7 separate regions of the Homo sapiens genome follow, and regions 1, 2, 4, 5, 6 and 7 are each linked to region 3. Evidence: promoter capture Hi-C in human tissues and cell types (Jung and others, 2019). All regions are on one chromosome and are shown on one strand. Each heading gives the region's core, a stretch centred on a gene start or on the middle of the fragment in contact. The rest is flanking DNA. Distances are from core to core; before and after follow the strand shown. Region 1 has its middle 11 kb from the start of GPT2. Region 2 has its middle 36 kb from the start of C16orf87. Region 3 holds the start of ABCC12 (ATP binding cassette subfamily C member 12). Region 4 holds the start of C16orf87 (chromosome 16 open reading frame 87). Region 5 has its middle 20 kb from the start of SHCBP1. Region 6 overlaps MYLK3 (myosin light chain kinase 3). Region 7 overlaps SHCBP1 (SHC binding and spindle associated 1).

Region 1 (2,762 bases), core at 44-2,543, 1.3 Mb after region 3:
TTCTTTTGTTTGTTTGTTTGTGTTTGAGATGGAGTCTGGCTCTGTCGCCCAGGATGGAGTGCAGTGACGCAATCTGGGCTCACTGAAGGCTCCGCCTCCCGGGTTCACGCCATTCTCCTGCCTCAGCCTCCCGAGTAGCTAGGACTACAGGCGCCTGCCACGACGCCTGGCTAATTTTTTTGTATTTTTAGTAGAGATGGGGTTTCACCTTGTTTGCCAGGATGGTCTCCATCTCCTGACCTCGTGATCCGCCCGTCTCGGCCTCCCAAAGTGCTGGGATTACAGGCGTGAGCCACCGCGCCCGGCCTGAAGCGATTCTTGTGTCTCAGCCTCCCAAGTAGCTGGGATTACAGGTGCCCTGACACCATGCCTGGCTAATTTTGGTATTTTTAGCAGAGATGGAGTCTCGCCATGTTGGCCAGGCTGGTCTCAAACTCCTGACCTCAAGTGGTCCACCCTCCTCGGCCTCCCAAAGTGCTGGGATTATATACAGGCATTGAGCCACCACACCCAGCCTTATTGGATATTTTTAATGTGCTGGATACTGCCCCAAGTGCTTTAATGCATCATCTCATAGATGCCTTAGAAGAACCCTATGACATACCACCGTTATCGCCATTATACAGATAGGAAAACTGATGTTCAGAGAGGTTGGGCTACTTATCAAGATTACATAGCTAGACTGGGCACAGTGGCTCATGTCTGTAATCCCAGCACTTTGGGAGGCTTGAGCCCAGGAGTTCGAGACCAGCATGGGCAACATAGCAAGACCTCATCTCTACCAAAACATAAAAAAATTAGCCGACATGATGGCATACACTTGTGGTCCCAGCTTCTTAGGGGCCTGAGGTGGGAGGATACCCTTGAGCCTGGGAGGCCGAAGCTGCAGTGAGCTGTGATCATGCCACTGTACTTCAGCCTGGGCAACAGAGCAAAAAAAAAAAAAAAAAAAAAAAAAAATCACATAGCTAGGGTGGCAAAGCTAAGACTTGAACTTAGGACTCCATGGGTTCAGTGCTCAGTCTCACAAGACTGCCCCCACTTCAGACACCAGCCACAAGTGGGGTCCCCAGGGCACCCACACTTCTGCCCAGCTGGTTAAAAATTCGGGAGTTCCCATGACTTACCCCCTGTATTCAATAATTCACTAGAATTACTCACACAACTCAGGAAAGTGCTATAATCATTATTACAGTTTTGTTTTAAAGAATAAAACAAGAACAGCCAAAGAACAAGGCGTGGGAGGCTGGGAGGGGCACAGAGCTTCCATGCCCTCTCTTGAGCATGCCACCCTCCCACTACATTGATGTGTTCAGCATCCCCTAAGTATAGTTACAAACAGAAATTACAGTAATACTGGTTTTCATATTTGTCTATTTACCTTTGCTATGGAAATTTATATTTTCATGTGGCTTTGAGTTACTGTCTGGTGTCATCGCATTTCAACTTGAAGGATTCCCTTTAGCATTTCTTGTAGGGTGAGTCTAGTGATAACAAATTTCCTCAGCTTTTGTTTATTTAGAAATGTCTATTTTCTCCTTTGTGTTTCATTTTTAATATTATTATTTATTTATTTATTTATTTATTTTTGAGACAAAGTCTCACTCTGTCGCCCAGTGGTGCGATCTCGGCTCTCCCAAATTCAAGCGATTCTCCTGCTTCAGCCTCCCGATTAGCTGGGATTACAGGCATCTGCTACCACGCCTGGCTAATTTTTTGTATTTTCAGCAGAGACAGGGTTTCATCATGTTGTCCAGGCTGGTCTCGTCCTGACCTCAGGTGATCCGCCCACCTTGGCCTCCCAAAGTGCTGGGATTACAGGCGTGAGCCACTGTATCCGGCCAATTATTATTATTATTTTTTAGAGACGGTGTCTCACCATGTTGTCCAAGCTGGTCTTGAACTCCTGGGCTCAAGTAATCCACCTGCCTCAGTCTCCCAAAATGCTGGGATTACACGTGTGAGTTACTGTGCCCAGTCTCTTCTTTGTTTTTGAAGAACAGTTTTGCTGGGTGTAGAATTATCAGTGACAGGTTTTCTCTTTCAGCACCTTACATACAATTGTGTGCCATATAACAACGTTTCAATGACAGAGCATGTATACAATGGTGATCTCATAAGATTATAATACCATATTTTTACTTTGCAAAAGAGAAACACTCCGTCTCAAAAAAAAAAAACAACTTACTTTTCTTCCCAGTCTCAGGTATGTCTTTATCAGCAGCATGAAAATGGACTAATACAGTAAATTGGTACCAGTAGAGTGGGGCGTTGCTGAAAAGATACCCGAAAATGTGAAAGCAACTTCGGAACTGGGTAACAGGCAGAGGTTGGAACAGTTTGGAGGGCTCAGAAGAAGAAAGGAAAATGTGGGAAAGTTTGGAGCTTCCTAGAAACTTGTTGAATGGCTTTGACCAAAAGCCTGATAGCAATATGGACAATAAGGTCCAGGCTGAGGTGGTCTCAGATGGAGATGAGAAACTTGTTGGGAACTGGAGCAAAGGTGACTCTCGTTATGTTTTAGCAAAGAGACTGGCGGCATTTTGCCCCTGCCCTAGAGATTTGTGGAACTTTGAACTCCAAAGAGAGATGATTTAGGGTATCTGGCAGAAGAATTTTCTAAGCAGCAAAGCATTCAAGAAGTGAGATGGGTTCTGTTAAAGGCATTCAGTTTTATAGTGGAAGCAGAGCATTCAAGTTTGGAAAATTTGCAGTGACCATGTAATAGAAAAGAAAAACCCATTTTCCAAGGAGAAATTCAA
Region 2 (3,085 bases), core at 530-3,029, 1.4 Mb after region 3:
TATACTTACCATTTTTTTTGTGGCTGCAACAATTCTCTTGGCAATTTTCAAGTATACAATATGTTATTAACTATAGTCGTTATGCTGTATAATTGATCTCTTGAACTTTTGCCTCCTAACTGAAAGTTTGTTTCATTTGACCAGCATCTCCCTAGCTCCCCTCCCTCACCACTGGTAACCACCATTCTACTGTCTGTTTCTATGAGTTTGACTTTTTTAGATTCCACATGTAAGTGAGGTTATACAATACTTGTTTTTTTGTGCCTGGCTTATTTCACTTAATATTCACCAGGTTATCCATATTGTCATAAATGGCAGGATTTCCTTTTTAATGGCTGAAGAGTATTCTACTGTGTGTATGTACTACATTTTCTTTTTTTTTTTTTTTTTTTTTTTTGAGATGGAGTCTCACTCTGTTGCCCAGGCTAGAATGCAGTGGCGTGATCTCGGCTCACTGCAAGGTTTGCCTCCCGGGTTCACACCATTCTCCTGCCTCAGCCTCCCGAGTAGCTGGGACTACAGGCGTCCGCCACCATGCCCGGCTAATTTTTTTGTATTTTTTAATTGAGACGGGGTTTCACCGTGTTAGCCAGTATGGTCTTGATCTCCTGACTTTGTGATCCGCCCACCTCGGCCTTCCAAAGTGCTGGGATTACAGGCGTGAGCCACTGCGCCTGGCCTATGCTACATTTTCTTTATCCATTCATCTGTTGAACACTTACATTGATTTTATATCTTGACTATTGTGAATAATGCTACAATGAAAATGGGAGTGCAGATATCTCTTCAACGTACAACGTACTGACATCATTTCCTTGGATATATACCCAAAAATGGGATTGCTGGATCATAAGGTAGTTCTATTTTTAGTTCTTTGATGAACCTCCATACCATTTTCCATAATGACTGTACCAGTTTACATTCCCACCAACAGTGTACAGGATTTTCTGTTTCTCCACATCCTGACCAACACTTGTTATTTTTTGTCTTTTTAATAATAGCCATTCTGACAGGTGTGAGCTGATATTATGGTTTTGATTTACATTTCCCTGATGATTAGTGATGCTGAGCACTTTTTCTTATATGTGTACACCATTTGTATGTCTTCTTTTTAAGAAATGTCTATTCACATCCCTTGCCCATTTTTAAATTGGGTTATTTTCTTGCTATTGAGTTGTTTGAATTACTTATGTATTTTGGATATTAACCCCTTAGATGTATGTTTTGCAAATATTTCCTCCCATTCAACAGATTATCTCTTCACTCTTGATTGTTTCCTTTGCTGTGTAGAAGCTTTTTAGTTTGATGTAGTCTCACTTGTTTGTTTCTGCTTTTGTTGCCTGTGCTTTTGGTGTAATATTCAAAAATCATAGCCAAGGCCAATATCAAGGAGTTTTTCTAGCTTGTTACCTGTTTTCTTCTAGTAATTTTATGATTTCTGGTCTTAGGTTTAGGTTTTTTAATCCATTTTGAGTTGATTTTTTGTATATGGTGTAAGGTAAGGGTCCAGTCTAGTTCTTTTGTATATGGATAGCCTGTTTTCCCAACACCATTTGTTGATGATACTATCCTTTTTCCATTGTGTCTTCTTGGTGGCCTTGTTGAAAATTAGTTGAACATATATGATTGGGTTTGTTTCTGGACTTGCTGTTCTTTTTCATTGGTGTATGTGTCTGTTTTTATGCTAGTACCATACTGTTTTGATTAGCTTTGTAATATAGTTTGAAATCATGAATTGTGATGCCTCCAACTTTGTTTTCCTTTCTCAAGATTGTTTTTGCTATTTGGGGTCTTTTGTGTTTTTTTAAGAGTTTTTTTTTTTCTGTGAAGAATGTCATTGGAATTTTGATAGGGGTTGTGTTGAATCTGTATCATTTTGGATAGTATGTGTAGTTTAAATAGTATTCTTCAAATCTATGAACATGGGATATCTTTCCTTTTTTTGTGTCTTTGGTTTCTTTCATCAATGTTTGATAGTTTTCAGGGTACAGATCTTTATTAGTTAAAATTATTTCTGGGCTGGGCGTGGTGGCTCACGCCTATAATCCCAGCACTATGAGAGTTCGAGGCAGGTGGATCACGAGGTCAGGAATTCAAGACCAGCCTGGCCAAGATGGTGAAACCCCATCTCTACTAAAAATACAAAAATTATCCGGGTATGGTGGCGGGTGCCTGTAATCCTAGCTACTCGGGAGGCTGAGGCAGAGAATTGCTTGAACCTGGCAGGTGGAGGTTGCAGTGAGCCGAGATCGCGCCACTGCACTCCAGCCTGGGCAACAGAGCGAAACTCCATCTCAAAAAAAAAAAAAAGTCTAAATATTTTATTCTTTTGATGGTATTGTAAATGTGATTTTTTTCTTGATTTTTTTTTTGGATAGATTGTTATTGGTGTAAAGAAATGCAACTGATATTTGTATGTTGATTTTGTATCTTACAACTTATTAATTCATTTATTCTAATAATTTTTCTGTGAAGTTGTTAGGGTTATTTATATTGAGGATCATGTCATCTACAAATGGATAATTGTACTTCTTTCTTTCTGATATGATGCCTTTTATTTATTTTTCTTGCCTGATTGCTCTTGCTAGTATCTTTAGTGCTATGTTCAGTGGAAGTATTGAGTGGGCATCCTTGCCTTACACAGATCTTAAAGGAAAAGCTTTCCGTTTTTTCCCCATTAATGATATTAGCTGAGAATGTAGGCTATTCATAAATTGCCTTTATTACATTGAGGAATTTGTCTTCTATATTTATTTTGTTGAGAGTTCTTTTATCATAAAAGGATGTTATGTCATTGCGATGTCTGACTTTAGTATTAGGGTGATGCTGCACTCAGAAAATGAGTTCAGAACTTGTACTTTTTGGCAGAGTTTACGAAGGATTGGTATAAATTCTTTTTTTTTTTTTTTTGAGACAGAGTTTTGCTCTTGTTGCCCAGGCTGGAATGCAATGGTGTGATCTTGGCTCATGCACCCTCCGCCTCTTGGGTTCAAGTGATTCTCCTGCCTTGGCCTCCTGAGTAGCTGTAATTACAGGCGTCTGCCACCAAGCCTGGCTAATTTTTGTATTTTTAGAAGAGATGGGG
Region 3 (3,034 bases), core at 265-2,764:
TAAGGACTTCCTTGGATACAGACCGGACAGTCCCTCTCCATCATTCTCCACTCTGTTTCCGGCTAGGCCCACCAATCTTCTTGCGTAGCGCCCAATACTGTTTGTCTGGGTGGAAATCCATCTCCGCCCAGCCTTTCATGGAGATAGAGGAAAACTGATCGGCATTCTTCCTCCATAAACTTGACAGCACTTGACTCCGTTTGGAAGATTGTGGAAGCGAGTCTTTGCTGTGTTTATGAGACCCCCGGGGTTGTTGCGAAGATCAAGTGATAAAGAGGATGAAGAATTTTGCGATACACAAAGGGCTCCAGAAATGTCGAGTGATATTATTAGCAGTGATTTGCATTCATGAAGGGAAGAATGGACGGAAATTAAATGGAACACTTTGGACACGTGTAAGGAAACTGCTGTCGGTCTAGCTCACTCCCCAGGCCGGGGAGCCTTCCTGGGAGGACCCATTTTCCTACACAGCTGCCCACAGCCCCTCTCCATTTCCACCTCCCTCTAGGTAGGAAGGGAACTCAGGTTGGGCAAAGGCGGTGAATTCGCATCTCCAGGAAGCGGCGGGGCCGGAAGGCAGCCAGCAGGGGGCGGCATTGCGCAGGACAGGAGAAGGTAGCGGCCAAGTTCCTCATGAAATCCACGTGCGTGAGGCTGGGAAGGTCCTCTAAGATGTTTAAATAACCCTTAAAGCGGAATCAAGATTTGTTTTTTTCTGCAGTTAGAGAGTTTGCTCCCTCCCAGCCGGCTCGCTGAGCGCTGTGGAACCCTTCGGCTGGGCTCCCCTGAAATCGGGCGCTTGTTCTGGGACAGGCGCAGAAGGGACCCCGGGAATCACGCTTGCGCTCGGGATGTGCAGGGTTCCAAGGGTGACACAGGGGAACTTTTCTATGCAAGGGCTAGCTGCTAGTGCAGGTCTCAGACTTACCTTCCGTTCATTTCAAGACAAATTGAGCTCAAATTACCCTTTTCTTTTTCGTTAAATGAATGGGGAATGAATGAATGAGATTTTCTGTTTTGAAGATGAGGCTCATCTCCCCTCCCCTCGCCTCCCCTGCCCTCCCCTACCCCTGCCCTCCCCTACCCCTGCCCTCCCCTCCCCTCCCTTCCCTTCCCCTGATCCCAAAGTTGATTCCCGGTTGCAGGAACACAGCGTAGAAAATTCGATGCATTCTCTCAGGAAGGAGCCTGGAGTGGGACTCAGGGGACCTGGGTGCTGGTCTCAGCCCCACGCCAGTCGTGGACAGGCTTCTGTTCCTTGGGCTTCTCGTCTGTAGAATGACGGTTGGAGAGAGGATTTTTCTCCTTCTCTTCTACAAGGATGTGCTGTGACAGCCAGGGAAGGGCTGGCCATGCACAGTGCTTTCATGCATGGGCTCTGACTGTCACCAAAGAGCCAGACCCGGCCACAGGCCATCCTGGAAGAGGGGAGAGCCCTTTAATGTGGGCAGAGGGAATGTTGGCCCGCCAGAGTTCCCTCTCAGGTGTGGTGGGAGTGGCAGTTGAATGGGGCAGTTGGAGAGGAGGACTTCAGGCGGGTGGGACAAGAGAAACTGAATCTGAGGTCCTTGGGGAGAAGCAGGCCCTGGAGTCCTGGGCAGCAGATGCCAGGCTCTGAGCCCCATGACTGCTGACCCTCCTCCCCTCCCTCTCATCCTCAGCCCAGGTAAAGCTTCATTTCCAGCCCAGGTAAAGCTTCTCCCTGTAACAATTAGTGGCCACCATTTAGTCCCAAGGGCCTTTGTTTCTCATCCTCAGGACAGGCTGTGTGTGTGTGTGGTGGGGGGTTTGGGGGAGGTGACACCACTGAATGGGGCTGCCCAAGTGGGAGGCAGCAGGGACGAGGCTCCCAGAAGAAAGGCAGCCCCTCTTCCACTTTTGGAGCCCCCGCTATCATAAAAGAAAAGGCAGAAATGCCAAGACGCGATTTCAAAATCTCTGAAATACAAAAGCCTACATTGAATATTTTAAGTCTTTTCCCACACATGCACAAACACAAACACATATACAGGGTAGTGTTCACAATTTAATTATGGGATTTATACCTCCCCCCCAAAAAAAAAGACCTGGAAAGCTTTACTGCAGTTCTCATATGAGGTTTTCATCTTTCTTTCTTTTTTTTTTTTTTTTAACTTTTAAATATATTATTTTCCTGGGAGGGTAGATTTGAATTGCTCTGAATCCAGGCTCTGCATCCTTCTTTGATCGTGTCGGAATGTGTCTGTAACTGGATGGATGACCTCTTTTGGAGATGCCATCACTGGCCACTGTTTTAGGCCTTCTGGGAGATGAGGGTACTTGAGCAAAAGCACCCCCACTTCCCTTCCCACACCCCCAGCTTGGTGCTGTCCCCTGCATGCACTTCCCTCTGCCACCTCTCTGCCTCTCCCTGCCTCCCAACCCCAGTCCCTCATCACTCACAGGGCTTTCTGATCTGGCTGCCACAGGTGCCTGGGACCTGGGGACAGACAGGAGAGGTGCGGTGCAGGCAGGGCCTGGGAGAGCTCCCCAGTGTCTCCTCTGTGCTGGAGGCCAGTCAGGCCCTGGAGGAAGGGGCTGTGGGAGTTGGGGGAGACCATCAGATATTGATAACTTTGGTGGCTTTAAATTAACAATGGATTTATTAAGAAAGAAGTAGGGCTGTAGTCTCATACCTGGGAAAAATTTTATGACTAAAGGTGTGCCTGCTTTTGGTTGATGGAGGAACTCCCATCATGAGCACCAAGGAAGACCCAGAGTCCAGTTCTCAAACATAAAGTTGTTAATTTTCTGGGCTAGACAGGGGCAGAAATGAAATATAACAGAGCAAAGTGGGCAGGTGTGGAAAATGGTTCTTCTTGAGATGACTTCTAGACATCTTTTGTTCTCTCTTGGGGCAGAGACAAGGATAGAGAAAAAGGCCTCAGGAAACACTATAAGGAAGACAGCAGTGCCAATGCAATAATAAATGTTACATGACCCCAAATCTCAGAGTCACAGAGACAGTAAGGAGTGGTGGGGATTGTGGCAAACTAAAGCATGTATACCCTGCCCA
Region 4 (3,056 bases), core at 515-3,014, 1.3 Mb after region 3:
CAGCCTTGACCTCCTGGGCTCAGTGGATCCTCCAACTCAACCTCTTGAGTAGCTGGGACTACAGGCATACGCTGTCACCACATGGCTATTTTTTAATTTTTTGTGGAGACGGGTTTCACCATTTTGCCCAGGATTTTTAGCCCAATTTTAACATCAACGTGTGTACACTGTTTTTTAGACATAATGCTATTGTACTTTTAATATATTACAGTATAGTGGAAACATGTTTATTATATACACTGGGAAACAACAACAAAAAATTGAGTGTGGCTCTCTTTTTTGCAATGGCCTGGAACTGAACCCCCAGTCCCTCCAAGGTATGCCTGTAAATGGACCAAACAGGAAGCAATTTCGTGGGTTTCATATTAAAAGCTTTAAACATTTATATAACTGTTATTTATACAAAGTGTGCTTACAGGCATTTACTATGTAAAATTGTAACTCATAACTTTGCTTTAGTTAACAATTGTTGAATAAAAAGTTATCAGTGGAATAGCCAGTCTCTGTAATAAATGCATATTGGTAAATTTTCTCTGAGCCAAGTGTACAGTTTGTAAATTTTCTTTCTGTTATGTTTGTTCTGATTGTTTATTAAGTATAACTTTGGGTCTGTCAAATTAAATATTTAAAAGTAAGCTTACGTTTTGCATAGTTGTTTTTAAATTTCACTTTTTCTTTCTTTTTCTTTTTTTTGAGACGGAGTCTCGCTCTGTCGCCCAGGCTGGAGTGCAGTGGCCACAATCTCGGCTCACTGAAGCCTCAATCTCATAGGCTCAAGCGATCCTCCCACCTCAGCCTCTCTACTAGCTAGGACTCCAGGCATGGGCCACCACGCTCAGCTAATTTTTAAAAATCTTTTACTTTTTGTAGAGATGGGGGTCTCGCTATGTTGCCCAGGGTGGTCTGGAACTCCTGGGCTCAAGAGATCCGCCCTCCTCGGCTTCCCAAAGTGCTGGGATTACAGGCGTGAGCCATTGCGCCCAGCCTCGAATAATTTAATTTTAATGTTAATTTAGTAAGTATCAGTCACGGACAGATTGGAAAAAGAAAAACATCTGATCCCTCATCTTGATAGTGAGTAGCACTGGTTTACACAGCTAGGCTGCTCCTTGAAGGCTGACACTGCATTTTATTCAAATTTTCCTGACAGTGGGACTTAGGCAATTATATATTGAATAAATAAATGAATTTTCACTCTGCTGCTGGGTCCAGTGGTCTCATAAAATGTCTATCATAATTTCTCAATGATTAGCCTTGGTAACATCTACTTAAGTTTATTAAATGCCAGGATCCACGCTACGCCCTTCACCATTCATTCCCCAGCCTTCGCTCCCACGGTCTCTGTGGGGATGGGGCGTGCCCAGCACTACGGCCCGCCCTACCTATGCATTCGTTGGTCGAACTCGACGCCCGTTACTGCCGAGTCCCGCCCAGGCCTTGCCCCCTCGTAGTCGGCCAGGCCGAGAGGAGGCGTGGCCACTGCCGCGCCGGGGCGGTCTGGCGGAGGGGGGGGAGGTCTCCCCTCGTCTCGTGATACTCTGGGCGAGCTCGCGGGCGGGCTGTGGGTCGCGAGCCGCCGTGGGAGCGCGTGTCGCGGTCCCCAGGAGCCGCCGGCCGACGCTCCGCCCCGCCCCCTTGGCGCCCAGGTCCCGCGCGAGCTCGCGCACGCGCGCGCGCGCACCCGCCAGAGGCTTGTTTGAGGCCCGCGGGGACTGGGCGGGCGGAGGCCGGGCTGCCGAAGTGTGAGGGGAGGAGCCCGAGCCGTCGCTGCTGCCGCCGCTAAGGGAGAGGAGCATGTCTGCAACTCGAGCCAAGAAAGTGAAGATGGCCACCAAATCATGCCCCGAGTGCGACCAACAGGTGGGTGCCGGGGGCCGGGCGCGCGGGCGGGCGGCAGTGGCTTGGCGGCCGTTGTCTGTGGAGGGGGGCCTCGCCGGGCTCCCGGAGGCCGAGCGGTGGGCAGATCCTGGGGCCCGCCGGCGGCGGCGGGGATCCGGGGCCGGTCGGGCTGCACCGAGGGGTTTCCCGGGAAAAGCCCGGGGCCGTGGCCCGCCAGCGTCCACCTGGCGGCGGCCAGACGGCCAAGCCCCTTCTTGCTGTGTCCCGGCCACTGGAGGAGCGCGCCTTTGGTGGGCTCACCGGGCGGCTGTCTGGAGCCCCAGACTCTCCTCGCCGGCGGCGGTGACAGCGGTGGGAGCCTGCGGGCCGCAGCCCCGGCGAGAGTGTGCCGCACGCCCGCCTCCGAGGCCAGGCCCTAGCTCCGAGAACCCCTCCTGCGGCCGGGGCGGCTTTGTTCCCGGTTCCGACGGGTGCGGGGCTTCCCCAAAACGGCCCCTCCGCGACCGGGGCGGGCGCCTGAGTGGGACAAAGGGGGCCGCGTGTAATGATTTTGAGTTTCGGCGAATTTGGAGATTTTTTCCCCTTCCTCATCTATTTATTATATTTTTGCTGTGCAATCGCGAATCCTGCCTTTACATCGTTTTTAATGGGTCATGATTGAATAAAGCCCCTGTTTAAGCCCTTCCTCCTTTTTGGGCGCTCCTAACTTCCCCACCCCTCGCAGTATCCACTGTTACAAATTTGGCCTGTCTGCTTCCAGATCTGTATCCCTGTCTGTCTGAATGTCTCTGTGTGTCTCTCTCTCTCTCTCTCTCTCTCTCTCTCTCTCTCTCTCTGTCTGTCTCTCTCTATCTCTCTATCTCTCTATCTCGTTTCTTGAATTTGAAACGATTCCTTTCTACATTGAGTTCATGGTGTAATAGTTGTAATTTAAAACATCTCATTTCAGTGATCGCTGTGTTGAAGCGTGTCTCAATTCTTTACTGGAATAATAGACATTCCTTTAAGCCTTAACATCTAATGAGTTAAAACTACTTCAGTTAAAACCATTCGTAAGGCCCTCGTTTGTTACCAACATGTAGATCTGGGTGTGTTTTTTCCTTTTCCACTGAGTGGATTTTTTCAAAATGACTACCTTTCTCTCCTCCCCTCCCCCCACCGCCTTTTTTTTTTTTTAAATCAAGAGTAATTTGAAATGGCTGGAGACTTTTTAATAA
Region 5 (2,764 bases), core at 116-2,615, 1.5 Mb after region 3:
TTGAGATGGAGTCTTGCTCTGTTGCCCAGGCTGGAGTGCAGTGGTGTGATCTCGGCTCATTGCAAGCTCCGCCTCCTGGGTTGATGCCATTCTCCTGCCTCACCCTCCTGAGTAGCTGGGACTACAAATGCCTGCCACTACACCCGGCTAATTTTTTGTATGTTTAGTAGAGACGGGGTTTTACCATGTTAGCCAGGATGGTCTTGATCTCCTGACCTCGTGATCCACCCGCCTTGGCCTCCCAAAGTGCTGGGATTACAGGTGTGAGCCACCGCACCCGGCCTGCTGGTTTAAAGTCTGTTTTATCAGAGACTAGGATTGCAACCCTTGCTTTTTTTTTCTTTTTTTTTTTTTTTTTTCTTTCCATTTGCTTGGTAAATATTCCACCATCCCTTTATTTTGAGCCTATGTGTGTCTTTGCATGTGAGATGGGTCTCCTGAATACAGCACACCAATGCGTCTTGATTCTATTCAATTTGCCAGTCTGTGTCTTTTAATTGGGGCATTTAGCCCATGTACTTTCAAAGGTAATATTGTTATGTGTGAATTTGATCCTGTCTCTATGACACTGGCTGGTTATTTTGTCTTTTAGTTGATGCAGTTTCTTCACAGTATTGATGGTTTTTACAGTGTGATATGTTTTTGCAGTAGCTGGTATCAGTTTTTCCTTTTCATATTTAGTGATTCCTTCAAGAGCTCTTGTAAGGCAGGCCTGGTGGTGACAAAATCTCTCAGCATTTGCTTTTCTATAAAGGATTCTATTTCTCCTTCGCTTATGAAGCTTAATTTGGCTGGATGTGAAATTCTGGGTTGAAAATTCTTTTCTTTAAGAATGTTGAATATTGGCCCCTACTCTCTTCTGGCTTATAGGGTTTCTGCAGAGAGATCCAGCGTTAGTCTGATGGGCTTCCCTTTGTGGGTAACCCAGCCTTTCTCTGGCTGCCCTTAACATTTTTTCCTTCATTTCAACCTTGGTGAATCTGACAATTATGTGTCTTGGGGTTGCTCTTCTCGAGGAGTATCTTTCTGATGTTTTCTTTATTTCCTGAATTTGAATGTTGGCCTGTCTTGCTAGGTTGGGGAAGTTCTCCTGGATAATGTCCTGAAGAGTGTTTTCCAACTTGGTTCCATTCTCCCTGTCACTTTCAGGTACACCAATCAAACATATGTTTGGTCTTTTGCATAGTCCCATACTTCTTGGAGGCTTTGTTCATTCCTTTTCATTCTTTTTTCTCTAATCTTGTCTTCACAGTTTATTTCATTAAGTTGATCTTCAATCTCTGATATCCTTTCTTCTGCTTGATTGATTTGGCTATTGATACTTGTGTATGCTTCATGAAGTTCTCATGCTGTGTTTTTCAGCTCCATCAGGTCATTTTTATTCTTCTCTAAACTGGTTATTCTAGTTAGCAATTCGTTTAACCTTTTTTCAAGGTTCTTAGCTTCCTTGCATTGGGTTAGAATTAGAACATGCTCCTTTAGCTCAGAGGAGTTTGTTATTACCCACCTTCTGAAGCCTACTTCTGTCAATTCATCAAACTTATTCTCTGTCCAGTTTTGTTCCCTTGCTGGAGAGGAGTTGTGATCCTCTGGAGAAGAAGAGGTGTTCTGGTTTTTGGAATATTCAGCTTTTTTTGCGAGGGTTTTTCCTCATCTTTGTGGATTTATCTACCTTTGGTCTTTGATGTTGGTGACCTTCAAATGTGGTTTATGTGTGGACATCCTTTTGTTGATGTTGATGCTATTCTTTTTCTGTTTGTTAGTTTTCCTTTTAACAGGCAGGCCCCTCTGCTGCAGGTCTGCTGCAGGTCTGCTGGAGTTTGCTGGAGGTCCACTCCAGACCCTGTTTGCCTGGATATCACCAGCAAAGGCCACAGAACAGCAAGGATTGCTGCCTGTTCCTTCCTTTGGGAAGCTTCATCCCAGAAGGGCACCTGCCAGATTCAAGCCGGAGCTCTCCTGTATGAGTTGTCTGTTGACCCCTGCTGAGAGGTGTCTCCCAGTCAGGAGGCACAGGCATCAGGGACCCACTTGAGGAAGCACTCTGTCCCTTAGCAGAGCTCGAACGCTGTGCTGGGAGATCCACTGCTCTCTTCAGAGCCGGCAGGCAGGAATGTTTAAGTCTGCTGAAGCTGCACCCACAGCTGCCCCTTTCCCCAGGTGCTCTGTCCCAGGGAGATGGGAGTTTTATCTATAAGCCCCTAACTGGGGCTGCTGGGAAGGCAGTTTTTTTTTTTTTAAGAGATGGAGTCTTACTCTATTTTCCAGGCTGAAGTGTGTGGTACAATCATAGCTCATTGTAGCCTTGAACTCCTGGGCTCAAGTGATCCTCCCACCTCAGCCTCCTGAGTAGTTGGGACTGCAGGTGCGCAGCACTACATTCGGCTGATTTTTAAATTTTTATTTTTGTAGAGACAAAGCTCTTGCTTTCTTGCCCAGGCTGGCCTCAAACTCCTGGACTCAAGCCATCTTCCTACCTCTGCCTCCCAAAGTGCTGGGATTACAGGCATGGGCCACCATACCTAGGCTAAAGGCATTTTTTAAAAATGTGAATACCTGGGCCCCACTCCAAGCCAATTAAATCCTAAGTGGGTGGAGAACTGCAGCTATAAGCAAAGCAAATTGTGTGGGTGCCACAGAGTAGATTTAGCCTCTGAGATGGGTGGAAGGGAATGGGCTTTCTCAGACCATGATGAGGTCTTGTGAGTGATGAGATGCCCAAAGCTTGTTCTTATTTTCTAATTTTCTATAGTGAACATGGATT
Region 6 (2,947 bases), core at 376-2,875, 1.4 Mb after region 3:
GCTGCTAGCTTGATTTAAAAATGTCACAGAGCAAAAATAACTGGCATAAAACTTACATTTGGTTTGTGCTTATATGGACACTTGAAGTGACAGAATGAAGCTTAAGCATATGTTCTCAGTGGCAATCATCGTGAAGCTCCTGAACTAACTGCTTAGAGCTTGAGGCCTGATTCTTCCACATTTCAGAAATGGGAGATAAGAAAGGCCTGTTAAACTTTTAAAACTTTATAATTTTGTTTACAACAGAATTCTTTAGTCCCATGGACATAAAACCTATCTTAAAAGCAATTGTGATCCAGGGAAGTGGCTTCCAACAATTTAATATGGACTTAGATCCTCACTGGGGATCCAAAAGCACAAACAAAACCCTTTATGTATGGAGCCAGTACACAAGAATACCTATACATGTACACACTTACCGGGAAACACACAACAAAAATTTGACTCAGGCGTGGTGGCCTGCACCTATAGTTCCAGCTATTTGGGAGGCTGAATGGGGAGGATCACTTGAGTTCAGGAGTTTGAGGCTGCAGTGAGCCGTGATCACGCCAGTGTACTCTAGCCTGGGTGACAGAGGGAGACTCCCATCTCTGTTTAAAAAAAAAATCACAACATTTTCTCTAACAGAATATGATGTATTCTGATATTTTCTATTCTGTGCCACTTGGTTTTATTTTTTAAATGCTGTTCACAACCCACCAATTTGATTTCATGACCCATTGCTCGGTTGTGAATCACAATTTGAAAAACACTGTTCTATCAAAGCATGATGTAGGCTGATGAAAAATAAAAATAAGACACTGTTCTAGGGTGCTCCATTTTTCATGTGAAAAGGGCAGGATAAACCTGGGTAACCTAGTGAGACTGTATCTTTACAAACAAGACAAAAGTTAGCTGGTCGTGGTGGTGGTTGCCTGTAGTCCCAGCTACTTGGGAGGCTGAGGTGGGAGGATTGCTTGAGCCCAGGAGGTAGAGGTTGCAGTGAGCCAAGATCACGCCACTGCACTCCAGCCTGGACAACAGAGCCAGACCCCATCCTGACCCCCCTACCCCCTCCCCAAAAAAAGAAAAAAAAGAGGGCAGGATGATGTATCTTCCCACTTCATATTTACTCCCAACATGCCCCTGAAAGTCATGTGACTATTCTATAATTATTTTAGAAACTTGTTTCCCTTTAGGTATCAGATTTAAACCAACCCCAGTGGCTGGACTCACTTAAATCCTTTTATTGTTTCTTCATAAGGCAACTGGTCTAAAATACATGCTTTTTCTTTTCTTTTATTCTCTCCTTGCCTCAAGAAACATTTCTATGTGGTGACTGCTGCCAACAGGTTAAGGAAATTTCCAACTTCTCCCTAATCTTCAACTCTGCTGCTCCAATGGGTCCAGAAATTACTGAGGCCAGTGGTGAAGTGAAGAGATGACTCAAACATTTAAATAATTTGGCTTTTTGGTATTATTGATTCCACTTATTTTGTAAAAATGGTTATGGCTGCTGCCTTCCTTGTGGATGAAAAGTGGCTGTAAAGAAGCTTCCTAAGAACGTTTTTTTCTGCCTTGTAAGATCACTACGTGTGAAATGCTCTGAGTACCTTTCAAATATACCTACTTTTGGTGGTAAGTGTAGGGATGCTTTAGGTAGGTACTTTGCATCTGTCGAATTTAAATTCTAAACTCACACTGATTAAGGAACTCAGTAGACTACTTTGCAGGGGCCATGTTATTCAGTGTTATCTCCTCCAGTACAAAGAATTCCTAGAATTTTGATTTGCTCAGGTGTGAGCTGACATTTTATTGTACTACCCCATTCTTGTGTTAAGCCATGTGGATTTAGGACAGTGATCTTCAAACTTGCTTTAACTTATGCTCCCTTTTGAGAATCAGCATCACTTGAAATGTCAAAATATGTCAACTCTCATAGCCAAATCAAAGAAGTGATCATTTTGACTGTGCTTTTTAAATCTCCACACACCTCCACCTCTCTCCTAATTCTGCCTGTCTTAACCCCTCTGTCTTAGTTATAAATTTCTGGTCTTGTAAGTCTGGAAGCTGATAGGCAATTTATGAAAGAGATAAGAATGTAATGAGGTTCCGCTTTCTGAGAAACACAGAAATGATACATCCTGAGACATAAAGGAAAGCTGCTCTTCTGCTGCCTCAGGCTGTAGCACTCTCAATGTTGTCACTCTACACATACACTTTCTATATACATGTACAGTTGACCCTTGAACAGGGTTTGAATTGCAGTCAACTTAAATGTGGATTTTCTTTCACCTTTGTCACCCCTGAGACAGCAACACCATGCTCTCCTCTTCATCCCACTCTGCAGCCTACTCAACAGGAAGATGATGAAGATGAACACCTTTATGATGATCCACTTTCACTTAATGAATAGTAAACATATGTTTTCCTCCTTATGATTTTAGTAACTTTTCTCTAGCTTACTTTATTGTAAGAATACAGTATATAAGCTGGGTGTGGTGGCTCATGCCCATAATCCCAGCACTTTGGGAGGCTGAGGCAGGCAGATCACTTGAGGTCAGGAGTTCAAGACCAGCCTGGCCAACACAGTGAAACCCCATCTCTACTAAAAATACAAAAATTAGTGGGGCGTGGTGGCGGATGCCTGTAATGTCAGCTACTCTGGAGGCTGAGGCAGGAGAACTGCTTGAACCTGGGAGGTGGAGTTTGCAGTGAGCCAAGATTGCACCACTGCACTCCAGCCTAGGCAACAGAGCAAGACTCCGTCTCAAAAAAAAAAAAAAAAAAGAATACAGTATATGTATATATACACACACACAAACACACACACACACGAACACATATGTGTGTATGGGTATTAACTGACTGTTTATATTATTGATAGGGCTTCCAGTCAACATTAGGCTATTAGTAGTTAAGTTTTTGGGGAGACAAAAGTTATACTCAGATTTTCTACTGCAAGGGG
Region 7 (2,855 bases), core at 40-2,539, 1.5 Mb after region 3:
TAAGAAGCCCTTTGTTAAATTCGATTGTTTGAAAAACAGTGACATTATTTGAATTATAGAAGACTTTTTGGCTTTAATTTTGTAAAGAATACTTTAAAGGTATATGGCTTTACTCTAAGTTTCTGCAGTGAAACACAGCAGGCTGAACTAGCAGATCTACCTTAGGATATTTTGTCAGCCTCCTGCCTTAAATCTTAATGACCTTATTAAATGTGGCATTTATCTCCCCACTAGATGGTGCTTTAAGACCAGTAATTTTTTCTTGTATTCATAAGCAGTAACTTCATAGGCAATGCTGCAATAATAATAAAATTATAAATTGCACTCCAAAAAAATAATTGTAGAAGGTAATTTTTTCCCTGGGTGAAAGATGATTTTTTTCCCCCCGTTTGAAAGATGATTTTTTTCCCCTGTGTGAAAGATGAGATGAGAAGATAAGGCAGTAAGCCTTTACATTTTTGTGGAACTCAAGTCGATTTAGTGAGTTTCTCTTGGCTTAAATAGTAAATAATAATAAAATAAAAAATGTGTGAGGCCCGGCATGGTGACTCACACCTGTAATCCCAGTAATTTGGGAGGCTGAAGGAGGAAGACAACTTTTTTGAGACAAGCTCTCACTCTGTTGCCCAGGCTGGAGTGCAGCAGTGTGATGTCACTCACTGCAGCCTCAATCTCCTGGGCTCAAGTGTCCCTCCCACCTCAGCCTCCTGACTAGCTGTGAATACAGGTGCATGCCACCACACCGAGCTAATTTTTGTATTTTTAGTAGAGACAGGGTTTCACCATGTTGGCCAGGCTGGTCTCGAACTCCTGACCTCAAGTGATTTGCCTGCCTCCGCCTCCCAAAGTGCTGGGATTACAGGACTGCGCCACCGTGCCCAGCCCGGGAAGACCTCTTGACCTTAGGAGTTTGAGACCAGCCTGGGCAACATAGTGAGACCCCACCTCTACGAAACCTAAAAAAAAAAATTAGCTGGGTGTGTTAGGGCATGCCTCTAGTCCCAGCTGCTGGGGAGGCTGAGGCAGGAAGATTGCTTGAGTCCAGGAGTTTGAAGCTGCAATGAGCTGTGATTGAACCACTGCACTCCAGCCTAGGTGACAGAGCAAGACTTTGTCTCAAAAAAAAAAAAAAAGTTTGAAAGTCTGATTAATAGTTCTACCTGGTTTAGAATTATGTATGTGTGATTTTAGCTCTTCGTAAATGGGCTATGATTTCTATTTAGGCTTTCCAGTTTTTCCATTGTGCATTTCCTATTTTTCCATAGCATATTCAATAAAATCCCAAAATTTCAATAAGCTTGAGTATTTTCTAGGTTTGATACCTTTGCTCTTAAAAAGAAATGATTGATTTTGATTGACATGAAATATGATAAGGGAACATAACGTATATCGGACAAATTCAATCTTTACTTGGAAAAAAATTGTATTCTGATTTGATAGCCTTGCATGTGCTAACGACAAGCAATGACTTACATGCATAGCTTGTACATCACTGGCAGATGGGATGGCATAAGGGAGGAATCGTGTGTAGTTTTGCAGAAGACACGGTGGTACTTGATGGAGAGACTGGAATGTTATCAAATGTAGGCAGACTTAAAAAAGGTCTCTGGGCTAAGATAGGAGTGGGGCTATCAACAGGCAAGATCAAACCAGAGTGTCTGGATTTTGTACTGTGCAGTAAATTTTTCCTTTCTGCTTCAAAACACACTGCTTATATGTGACTAAAGGAGGTCTGAAAAAAACCAACACTGCTTCAGAACTTCGGGATCTGTGACACAAATGTTACTTCATTGCTTTTAGACTATGAAGTATCAATATAATGAAAAGAAATGAAAAGAAATAAGCTAACGGGCATGGATACTGGAAGTGCTAAGAGACTTATTTTAAAATTTGAGTCTTAATCTTCACAACTTAGTAGAACATGGTTTCATCCTCAATTTCTTTTTTTTATTTTTAAAATTTTTAAATTTTTTTGTTTTTCCCTTTTTTTTTCACAGCTGTTCACTCAGTTTCTTTCGGATTAACCAAAGTAGACAAAATCCTTGCTTTTCAAGCTTCACCTAATTCACTTACTTGAAAAGCGGGAAAAGTTTCTTTTTTATTCATTCAAAATGTTTAAGTGTTCATAGTCTGATGTAAATTTGTTTAAGATATGGTTCTATCTTGCATTTGTTTTTCCCTATCTTATTTAGAGCATGACTAAATTAAAAAAAAACAACATCATTTAAGGCAATCGTTCTCACTCTTGGCTACACATTAGCATCCCCAGGGAACTTAAAAAAATACCCTTGTATGTCCAGAGACCCATTTAATTGGTCTGGATGGGGCCCTGAGCATCTGTTTGTTTGTTTGTTTGTTTTTTGAGACAGGGTCTTGCTCTGTTGCCCAGGCTGGAGTACGGAGTACAGTGGCATAATTAGATCTCACAGCAGCCTTGACCCCTGGGGCTCAAGCCATCCTCCCACCTCAGCCTCCCAAGTAGCTGAGACTACAAGTGCATGCCATCACACCAGGCTCATTTTTGTATTTTTGTAGTGACAGGGTTTTGCCATGTTGCCCAGGCTGGCCTCAAACTCCTGGGCTCAAGTGATCTGCCTGCCTTGGCCTCCCAAAGTGCTGGGATTACAGGTGTGAGCCACTGTGCCTGGCCTATTTTACTTTATTTTTAAACCCATTAATTTTATATCTGTTAACTTGATTGTGCATTTACAAATTATTTTATTGCATCTAGAAATACTCTGTATTCTGTTTTTATATTTGAGAAAGTTTATAAATTAATACATTTGAAGTGCCAGTATGGTTGTCCAGTACAAGGTCATTTTGTTTCAGTCACTCTCTAGATTAGTAATGGCACC

The links. Contacts are between HindIII fragments. The study calls those that stand out against the background at their distance.
Region 1: a fragment that was not itself captured here is called in contact with the fragment with the promoter of ABCC12 in region 3 in 2 of the 25 tissues and cell types used here (mesenchymal stem cells and spleen).
Region 2: a fragment that was not itself captured here is called in contact with the fragment with the promoter of ABCC12 in region 3 in 1 of the 25 tissues and cell types used here (spleen).
Region 4: the fragment with the promoter of C16orf87 here is called in contact with the fragment with the promoter of ABCC12 in region 3 in 3 of the 25 tissues and cell types used here (aorta, hippocampus and mesenchymal stem cells).
Region 5: a fragment that was not itself captured here is called in contact with the fragment with the promoter of ABCC12 in region 3 in 1 of the 25 tissues and cell types used here (lymphoblastoid cells).
Region 6: a fragment that was not itself captured here is called in contact with the fragment with the promoter of ABCC12 in region 3 in 1 of the 25 tissues and cell types used here (spleen).
Region 7: a fragment that was not itself captured here is called in contact with the fragment with the promoter of ABCC12 in region 3 in 2 of the 25 tissues and cell types used here (lymphoblastoid cells and spleen).

Annotation. Positions count from the first base shown.
Region 1 is chr16:46,871,890-46,874,651 of GRCh38, reverse strand. No RefSeq gene overlaps it. Among named protein-coding and RNA genes, the nearest start is that of GPT2, 11 kb to the left of the region's middle. The HindIII fragment of the contact is 5,013 bases long and covers 1-2,762 here.
Region 2 is chr16:46,793,510-46,796,594 of GRCh38, reverse strand. No RefSeq gene overlaps it. Among named protein-coding and RNA genes, the nearest start is that of C16orf87, 36 kb to the left of the region's middle. The HindIII fragment of the contact is 4,329 bases long and covers 1-3,085 here.
Region 3 is chr16:48,154,473-48,157,506 of GRCh38, reverse strand. ABCC12 (ATP binding cassette subfamily C member 12) reads left to right here and starts at 1,514. Exons shown (of 31, transcript NM_001393797.1): 1 at 1,514-1,666. The HindIII fragment of the contact is 12,201 bases long and covers 1-1,885 here.
Region 4 is chr16:46,829,888-46,832,943 of GRCh38, reverse strand. It overlaps C16orf87 (chromosome 16 open reading frame 87), which reads left to right and starts at 1,764. Exons shown (of 4, transcript NM_001001436.4): 1 at 1,764-1,860. The coding sequence starts at 1,795. RefSeq lists a silencer at 1,418-2,067. The HindIII fragment of the contact is 8,650 bases long and covers 1-3,056 here.
Region 5 is chr16:46,640,432-46,643,195 of GRCh38, reverse strand. No RefSeq gene overlaps it. Among named protein-coding and RNA genes, the nearest start is that of SHCBP1, 20 kb to the right of the region's middle. The HindIII fragment of the contact is 3,378 bases long and covers 1-2,764 here.
Region 6 is chr16:46,706,116-46,709,062 of GRCh38, reverse strand. MYLK3 (myosin light chain kinase 3) reads left to right here. Exons shown (of 13, transcript NM_182493.3): 13 at 1,300-2,947. The coding sequence ends at 1,359. Among named protein-coding and RNA genes, the nearest start is that of ORC6, 18 kb to the right of the region's middle. The HindIII fragment of the contact is 3,696 bases long and covers 1-2,947 here.
Region 7 is chr16:46,605,102-46,607,956 of GRCh38, reverse strand. The region is part of intron 5 of SHCBP1 (SHC binding and spindle associated 1); the gene reads left to right. Among named protein-coding and RNA genes, the nearest start is that of SHCBP1, 15 kb to the left of the region's middle. The HindIII fragment of the contact is 6,049 bases long and covers 1-2,855 here.